Regions from separate parts of the Homo sapiens genome. Here region 1 is linked to region 2. Evidence: promoter capture Hi-C in human tissues and cell types (Jung and others, 2019). All regions are on one chromosome and are shown on one strand. Each heading gives the region's core, a stretch centred on a gene start or on the middle of the fragment in contact. The rest is flanking DNA. Distances are from core to core; before and after follow the strand shown.

Region 1 (4,294 bases), core at 1,766-4,265, 100 kb before region 2:
ATTACCCGACATACAAAAAACCAGGAAGATAAGACACAATCTCAAGAGAAGCTAATCAACCAGGAAAAAAGGGGGAGGAGCAATGATTCAGAGTAGGTTGAGGCAATAACCTCAAATTGTGTGAGATACAATGCATTCTACTGGAAAGAACAGAAAACCCATCTTAAGACGTTTTAAGCAGTAAGAGAATTATCTAACAAAACAAAATTTCAAGAGATAGAGCTATATCAAGATTAGTGAATTCAGGGGCTCAAGGATATTGTGAAGGAGACAGATCCTCTCCCTCTTTTTACACTGCCATTTACAGCTTGCCAACCTTGTCCCTCATGGTCAAAACATAGCTGCCACAGCTCCAAGCACCACATGCAAATGTGACATGAAATACTTAAACACAAATCCTTTGTCCTATGTCCCCTTCCTTCCTGCTTTGCCCTGTGAGTATGTGATTCTGGGAGCTATCACAGCCTTCCTGGGACCAAGAAGGGAGACACTGATCACATTTTGAGGATGGCAGAGCAAATAACTGAGAGGCGCTTGATGACAGTGTTAAGTCTTTGATTAAACCAACCCTGGAACCACCAGCCTCCTTGTTAGGCTCGCCAGATATTCTGTTTTTAAGAACCAAAGCAGGTCAGGCATGGTGGCTCATGCCTGTAATCCCAGCACTTTAGGAGGCGGAGGTGTGAGGATTGCTTGAGCCCAAATTCAAGACCAGCCTGGGAAACACAGTGAGACCCTGTTTCTATAAAAAATAAAATAATTAGCTAGGAATGGTGGGACATGCCTGTAGTCCCAGCTACCTGGGAGGCTGAAGTGGGAGGTTTGCTTGAGCCTGGGAGGTTGAGGCTGCAGTGAGCTGTGTTTGTGCCACTGCACTCCAGCCTGGGTGACAGAGCAAGACCTTGTCTCAAAAAAAAAAAAAGAACTAATGCATCCTATCTGAAACAACCTCCAGAATTGGAGAGCTAGTAACACTTGCTATAAATAGAAGGTGAGTATGAAGAACACAATGAAAATTTAAATTATTAAATTCTAGCAGGTACATAGCTCTGAGTCTGAGATTGCTTCATTCTTTTAGCTTAAAAGGGAGATTTGCATGCATTAGAAAGATGTTTAGGACATGATAGCACCAAACTAAGACACTCTCCTTAACCCGAAGAATTAAAAGAAAAAAACATTTTTTTCTTTTTTATACTGAGTCTCATTCTGTTGCCTAGGCTAGAGTACAGTAGCGCGATCTTGGCTCACTGCAACCTCTGACTCCGGGTCCAAGCAATTCTCCTGCCTCAGCCTCCCGAGTAGCTGGGAGTACAGGCACACACCACCATGCCCGGTTTTTTTGTTTTGATTTGTTTTGTTTCTTTTTTTTTTTAGTAGAGATGGGGTTTCACCATGTTCACCAGGCTGGTCTGGAATTCCTGACCTCAAGTGATCCACCCACCTTGGCCTCTCAAAGTGCTGGGATTACAGGTGTGAGCCACCACACGCGGCCTACAAGAGAATTTCTTTTAAAACTACGTAGTTCCATGTTGTTGAATACCTTACATCATTAAAAATCTTTGAGTGCCACCAGTAACATACTTCAGATATTTTAAAAATGCACCCCTGTATTAACAACTCCCAAACATTTACCTCTATCCCTGACTTCTCATGACTTCCAGTTGCCTTTGGGCACCTACACCCGGATATGGCACAGGCACCTCATCCTCAACATACCCAACGCATAATTCTCTATCTTCTCCCCCAAGCTTTCTCTTCTTCTTGTATTCTCTGCTGCTATTCATGATATTTCTATGTATCAAGCACCCAAACCCGGACTCCCTCAATAGGTGACAACATTTATAGTACTTTTTTTTGGTACTAAGTGCCAGGGTGCCACTGCATCTTACACAAGCACTAACATATTTGATCCTGACAACTCTTATTAGGTAGGTCCTATTATCATTCACCCCTTTTTCAAAATGAAGAAGCTAAGGATAAGAAATTTGCCTGGGGTCATGAGATTTGAATGCAGGTCTGTCTAATTCCTCTTTTTTTCTGCTTCACAAAGAAAATAGAAACCACCAAGCAAGATTTCTCAACTGGCCTCAAAACTTCATTTATTTCCCACCCATTTTCCCATCACTTCTCATTTTCACCTGTGCTCTCCCCTCCATGGGTCCTTCCCTTCCTTGACAACTCTCTCGCTCTCTCTCTTTCTCTCTCTCTCTTTCTCTCTCTCTCTCTCCTAATGCTGTCAACCTCACCCCCTTGAGAAGTGCCATGCTCCCTTTGGGAACCTGGAGGTCTTTCTCTCCTGCTTTTAAAGTTTCCTGCCTTTTCTCTGCCTCCTCCAAATTTTCTATTCTTCAAGCTAAACATCCCCGGGTACTTCAACTACTTCTTCCTGCCAAGTGTCTTCTCTCTCTTGCTTCTCCCCGCACCTCACTGACATTCTTCCTCTCTCTTTCACTGCTTCCTCTGCCTCAAAACCCAACTGAGAACTCAGGCTCCTCTGTGCAGCCTCCCCAGGACCCTGGGAGGTGAGCTGCTCCTGGCATTTCTCCCCCCTCTCCACCATTACAGCACACATCACACTGAGTTATCAATGTGTGATTTATGAGTCTGGCCTACAAGTTTAGGGGCTGCTTGAGGACAGAAAGCAGCTTCCCCCTGCCCATCACAGGGCGGCTGACTATGCCAGCCAGACCACGCTGTGCTATCACTCCTTTTACACTACTCTCTTCTGAGTGGACTTTGGAAAAGATACAAAGGAGGGATCTCACACTTTCCAAATCAGACCCCACAACTTGATATGCCACCTTCTGTGCCCTGGCCAAAGACTGACCAGGGATACTGGTGGAGTAGCTGAACCTGGACCTTCAAGCCTAGGAGTCAGACCACCTGGGTTTGTTGCCCTCTTCAACTACTTAGCTTAGAGACCAGTGGCAAGTTAATTAATGTCTCCTGGGATTTGTTTGTTTAGAGAGAGGGTCTCACTCTGTCACCCAGACTGGAGTGCAGTGGTGCCATCAAAGCTCACTACAGCCTCAACCCTCACAAGCTCAAGGGATCCTCCCACCTCAGCCTCCTAAGTAGCTGTGAATATAAGCACGAGCCACCACACCTAGCTCATTTTTTTTTATTCTTTGCAGAGATGGGGTTTCACTATGTTTCCCAGGCTGGAAGCTATTTAATATCTCTAAGCCTCAGTCACTTCATGAAGTTAATAATGAGATCAACCTCCTAGGGTGCTGTGGACATTCAATGAGATCATGTGTGTGAAGCATCCAGCTCAGTGCCTCAATAAATTAGTGCAGCTCTTCAGGGAAGTATTATTCCATGAAAGTGCCTGCTGTATGTAACCCTCTTCCTTCCAAGTGACTCAACAGCTTGCATAGTTCTCAGCCTGTCCTCCCAGCCTGGTAACTTAGGCATGAAGAAATCAGCCTACTGTGATCACGTGGCCAATGAAAGTCCTCAAACTAGAAGCCACTTTCTGAATTCCTTATTCAAGGCTATGGCTAAAAAAATCTACACATGTGCAAACTCCCCCACTGGGAAAAAAAAAAAACAGTTTGATGGAAGTATTCCTCCCACTAGAGAATTTCCCCTTCCTGTCAAATGTTGCCAGTTTCATTCATTGCTGTGGCAGGCACACTTTCCTGGCCATGAGAGATGGGCCTTATCACCATCCCGTATACCAGATCCTTCCTGGTTGCCATTCTGCCACACTCTTACGGGGCCTTCCTCACCATGGTGCTCCTCTGTGACCCCCGGAGCCCTTCACCTTGGTGAACAGACAGTCTGACTCGAATGGACCTGAATTCAATCTACGCTCTGCAGTTACTTAAGCAAATGTTTTATCTTCTCTAAGCTTGCTTTCTTATCTACAAAAGGGATAAGAATAGCAGCAAATCTTAGTGGAAGGTAAAGATTCAAAGGGATAAAGTTTGTGAAAATGCCCAGCTCATTGCAGACACTGAAATATTAGCTGCCTTCATCATCATCATCATCATCCTCATCATCAACGTCATTGTCACCATCAATTCTGAAGTTACACAATCCTAAAACCAAGTCTATTTTTGAATCCTAACTGTAACTTTGGAAAAATTTCTCAATTCTTTGTGCTGTTTTCTCAGCATAAAATGGCAACAATAACAGTAGCAGCCACACAGGGCTGTTGTGAGGATTAAATAAGTTAATACATGTAAAGTACTTAGAACAGTGCCAGTCACCGAGTGAGTACTCAATAAATGTCAGCTCAAGTTAATGGCATTTGAAATCTTTGAAGACATCCAGGAAATGGAAAATT
Region 2 (4,394 bases), core at 1,017-3,516:
CCCCATCTTCATCAGCCTCCTGCACCGTGCGGTCAGCGATGTTCTCCAGCTGCTCTTCTGTCACCTGTACCCCAACCATCAGACGGAGAACCTGAGAGATGAGTGAAGAGGCAGCCATAAGGAGGGGGCACGAAGGCTGCAACTCCCCATCTCCTAAACCTTGCCCACCTCATCCCAAAAGTTATTGCTAATTTTATAATCCATCCTTCATCCATTTTTCACCATATCCCCCAATAATTTTCCCTACTGCTTCAACAACCAATCTCCTATCTCTCCCTCACCATCCTGCACTACCCTCAAAATATGCTCAAACTCATTACCCAACTTTATCACCCAACCTCCATCCATCCTCCACACCATTCTCCACCTTAGCCACTAAGGGTTTCTAATTCCATCCTCATTCCATCACATCTGTTCCAGAGTTTCTCAATCTTGGCACTGTTGACATTTGGAGCCAGGTAACTCCTTGTTGGAAGAGGCTCTCCTGGGTATTGCATGATATATAGCCACATTCCTGACCTCTACCCACTAGATGCCAGTAGCACACTCTCTCCCCCATTGTGACAACAAAAAGCATCTCCAGATATTGCCAGATATTCACTCAGGGAGCAAAATCACCCCCAGTTGAGAATCACTGATCTATTCCCAACCTCATAGTCAACTGCTCCCCACTCCGACTCCCAACAAACCCACACTCTAACTGCACCCATTCCCATTTCCCAACCAATACCCCAATTATCTGCGCCCCAGTTCCCCAATCATCCCACCCCATCTCTCACACCATTGCATTTAACCATCCCATCCTTCACACATCACATCTCTTGCTCTCGCTTTCTGCCAACCTGCAGCATCTCATGCCTGGAGATCTTCCCATCGCGATCCAGGTCATAGAGCTGAAATGCATCTGGGGAGAGGGTGGGAGGGGGAAAGGAAGGTAGGTCTTCCCTGGCTCTCTTCCAGCAGCCACCTTCCTTCCCCCCACCTTGGAGGAGGGGGGAGGTTGTCAATGCCCTCAGGAAGGGAGTGGGAGATCCCTGGAGCCTGTCCCTGGTGTGGGTACATCTGCATTCTCACTTGTGCAGGTCCTCACAAACTCACAGTGAAGTTTGTTCCTTCTGCTGTTGAGAGGTTCAGGTTTCTTGGGGTCTTGGGTTTCTGTGTCCTCATCTTCTACAGGGCGAAAATGAGCCAAGACCCTGACAAAGCCTGGGAAATCCACTCGCTGGCTCCTGGGGAGACGGGACAGAATGGAAAGAGGTGGTGGTCACCTTGGCCATCACTTTGCCTCCGTCTCTAACCTCCCCTCCCACCCACTCACACACCGGTTTTCCCGCCTTCACCTCCCCACGCCCAGCAAGCCTCACCCATCGGGGAAGAAGCTTTCTATAATTCGGTCTCCCAGGGGGTTCACGGCGAGCGCCCCTATCTGCTGGAGATCCATGCGGCTGCAAAGCCAAATTTCAAAGAGGGTAAGGCAGAGATGCCAGACGGAGGGTCAAAGAGGGACATGGAGTCAGAGAGACAGAGGCCAGAAGTTATGAGGCCGGCTCCCCCTCACCTCAGGTAGCCCTTCTTATTCCTGTCCAGTGCCCGGAACCGGTGGTGCAGGCGGAGCAGGCTGGCTTGGGAGACTGCGGGAAGGAGAGTGGGGTGGGGGTGTGTGACTCTGCAGGGCCAGCTCCAGAAACCCGCCCCAACAGGCCAGGAAGATGGGCCAGAACAGCGGGGGCTGGCTGGAAGGGGCGATCATCCCGGGGAATCAGGGGTTGAGCTGGCCGGGGCGGAGGGAGAGTGACACGACCCCGCGAAGATCCAGGTTCAAGACCCGGGCGGCTCGCAACCTCCCGAAAACCAAAGAACCAAAGCCATCCCTTCCAACCGCCGTCAGCTCTGCCTTCAGCTTCGAGCCGGGCTGGAGGACACCTGGGTGCCTGGATTCCTCTGGACTCCGACCCCGTGAACCCGGATCCTCCCCAGACTTGGAGGCTGGGACCCCTAGGTTAACCCGCCCCTAACCCAGCGATCCCAGGCACAGGGGCCTTGGTCTTCCAGCTCCGGGGAGCCCCGGACCCCAGACTTGTAAGTTCGTCCATCCTTCAACCCAACCCCTTCCCTAGCCCCAGACGCCTGGGTTCGCCCCGTCCCCTCCGCAGCCGCCGACGCGGGCGCACTCACAGCCGGTCTCTCGCCGAATACTGTCCCCGTCGGGAATGACCGCGGCGTGGGAGCTGCGCGACCCCATGGCCGAGCTGGAGGCGGAAGGGCCGGAGCAGCCACCCGGACCCACGCGTTCTCTCCTCCCGCCGGAGAGGCGTGGCCGCCCCAGTGGCCCCAGGGGGACGAAGGCCACAAGCCTGGCGCGCGGCCAAGCTCCAGAACCCCGGCGTGCCTCTCCTCCCACCCGCGACCCGGGCGAATGGAAAACAATGTGCAGGGTGGCGGGTCAGAGGGAGGCTGCGAACAACGGGCTGTTTCAGCTCCGAGATTTTGCGATCCGCACGGGAGAGGCTGGTCGAGTCCCAGGCCCCGCGTTTCCACGCCTCCCCCGGGGCCGGTTCCCACGGTGCGCCCTGACACCTGAGCCACCTCCTCCTTCGCGGGCCCCGGGCGCTCCCAACCCCAGGGCGCTCCCCGGCGTCGACGCTGAGGAAGCCTGGGAGACCTGACCTCCTCTGTAGAGACCACGCCCTGCTGGAAGGCGGGTGGCCTATGGGGAGGGAATCCTGGGGGGAGGGGGGAAGAGGCATCGAAGAACTCCCAAAGACGGGGAAGTGGGGAGGGGCGGCGAGATGAAGGGTGTGCGTTAGGTTAAGTGGAAAGAGCACTGGTTTGGGAGTCCTTGTTGGAATCCCAGCCGTGCCCGTGACTCTGGGAAAGTCAGTAAATCTTGGTTTCATCCCTTTTGTTCGGTTCACATTGCCTTATTGTTGTTTAATTGAGCCAATGCTTAAAATTCAGGAGATTTAACCCAAAATCCACATTCTTGGCTTTTCCTGAGAAATCAGAAGTTCTATCACCACCAGGCCCAGAGCTGTCTTCTGGCCACAGTCCCTCCAAGCCCAATTCACTCCCTTAGGTACCTACTGATCCCGTAGAGCTCCAGACTGGGAATGACTTAGTCCTCTGAACAGCCCTCCAGAGCCATGGGACTCCTTGGCCCAAGAGAGGGTTACAGACATCACTGGGACTAGGCTTAAAGCAAGAATGACAACAAGGGCTCTTGTTTACCACGCTTTGCTAAGCACTTTACGTGCATCCGTTCACACATTCCTTGTAGGCCCTGCTGGGCTGCTTTCTTCTAATTTTACGTGGTGGAGGCTGCCGGGGGCAAGTTGTGAACTAATTATGTAAAGCGTGCATTCTCAGTGCGGTCTCTATCTCACCCCAACGGGGCAAAAAATAAAACATATTTTTTATGTACAAAGCACAGCATACATACAGCACATAAATAGATATACAGTATAGCTGTGATATTGAAATTTCAGGGCAGACGTGGAGGCTCATGCCTGTAATCCCAGCACTTTGGGAGGTAGAGGCAGGAGGATTGCTTGAGCCCAGGAGCTCAAGACCAGCCTAGGCAACATAGTGAGACCCCATCTCTACAAAAGAATACAAAAAAAAAAAATTAACCAGGTGTCGTGGCACATGCCTGTAGTCTCAGCTACTTGGGAGTCTGAGACAGGAGGATCACTTGAGCCCAGGAGGTTGAGGCTGCAGGGAGCCATGATCACGCCATTACACTCCAGCCTGGGTGACAGAGTGAGACCCTGTCTTGAAAAGAAAAGAGGCCGGGCGCGGTGGCTTATGCCTGTAATCCCAGCACTTTGGGAGGTCGAGACGGGCGGATCACCTGAGGTCAGGAGTTTGAGACCAGACTGACCAACATGGAGAAACCCAGTCTCTACTAAAAATACAAAATTAGCTGGGCGTGGTGGTGCATGCCTGTAATTCCAGCTACTCGGGAGGCTGAGGCAGGAGAATCGCTTGAACCCGGGAGGTGGAGATTGAGGTGAGCCTAGATCGCGCCATTGCACACCATCTTGGGCAAAAAGATCGAAACTTGGTCTCAAAAAAAAAAAAAGAAAGAAAATAAAATTTCATGGGGTAGGGGTGAGGGTGGGGAAATTAAAAAGACTAGGGGAGGCGTTGATAATGAAAAAAAAACAGGTCGAGAAACTCATTTGTCAAGGGACAAACACTAGAAGTGTCCACTTTTGAAAGTATCTTTAAACCGTTTCCCCCATCATAATTGCACATACATACACAAATTTCCCAGGGGGGAAAACATGCAAGCAGTTCATTGCAAGGGCTCAAGTTCATATCCACCCTGGAGAGAGAGAAGCTGAAGAAACAGTCTATCCTCCAGCCCCAGGCAGAGGCCTGCATCAGATAAG

The links. The method cuts DNA at HindIII sites, captures the fragments that hold promoters and counts their contacts. A contact is called where the count stands out against the background at its distance.
Region 1: a contact is called between a fragment that was not itself captured here and the fragment with the promoter of CHP2 in region 2, in 2 of the 25 tissues and cell types used here (dorsolateral prefrontal cortex and pancreas).

Annotation. Positions count from the first base shown.
Region 1 is chr16:23,857,802-23,862,095 of GRCh38, reverse strand. All of the region lies in intron 2 of PRKCB (protein kinase C beta), which reads right to left. Among named protein-coding and RNA genes, the nearest start is that of PRKCB, 24 kb to the right of the region's middle. The HindIII fragment of the contact is 4,841 bases long and covers 595-4,294 here.
Region 2 is chr16:23,752,898-23,757,291 of GRCh38, reverse strand. It overlaps CHP2 (calcineurin like EF-hand protein 2), which reads right to left and starts at 2,266. Exons shown (of 7, transcript NM_022097.4): 1 at 2,176-2,266; 2 at 1,559-1,631; 3 at 1,365-1,445; 4 at 1,099-1,229; 5 at 843-904; 6 at 1-91. The coding sequence starts at 2,242. RefSeq lists an enhancer at 1,733-2,378. The HindIII fragment of the contact is 8,876 bases long and covers 257-4,394 here.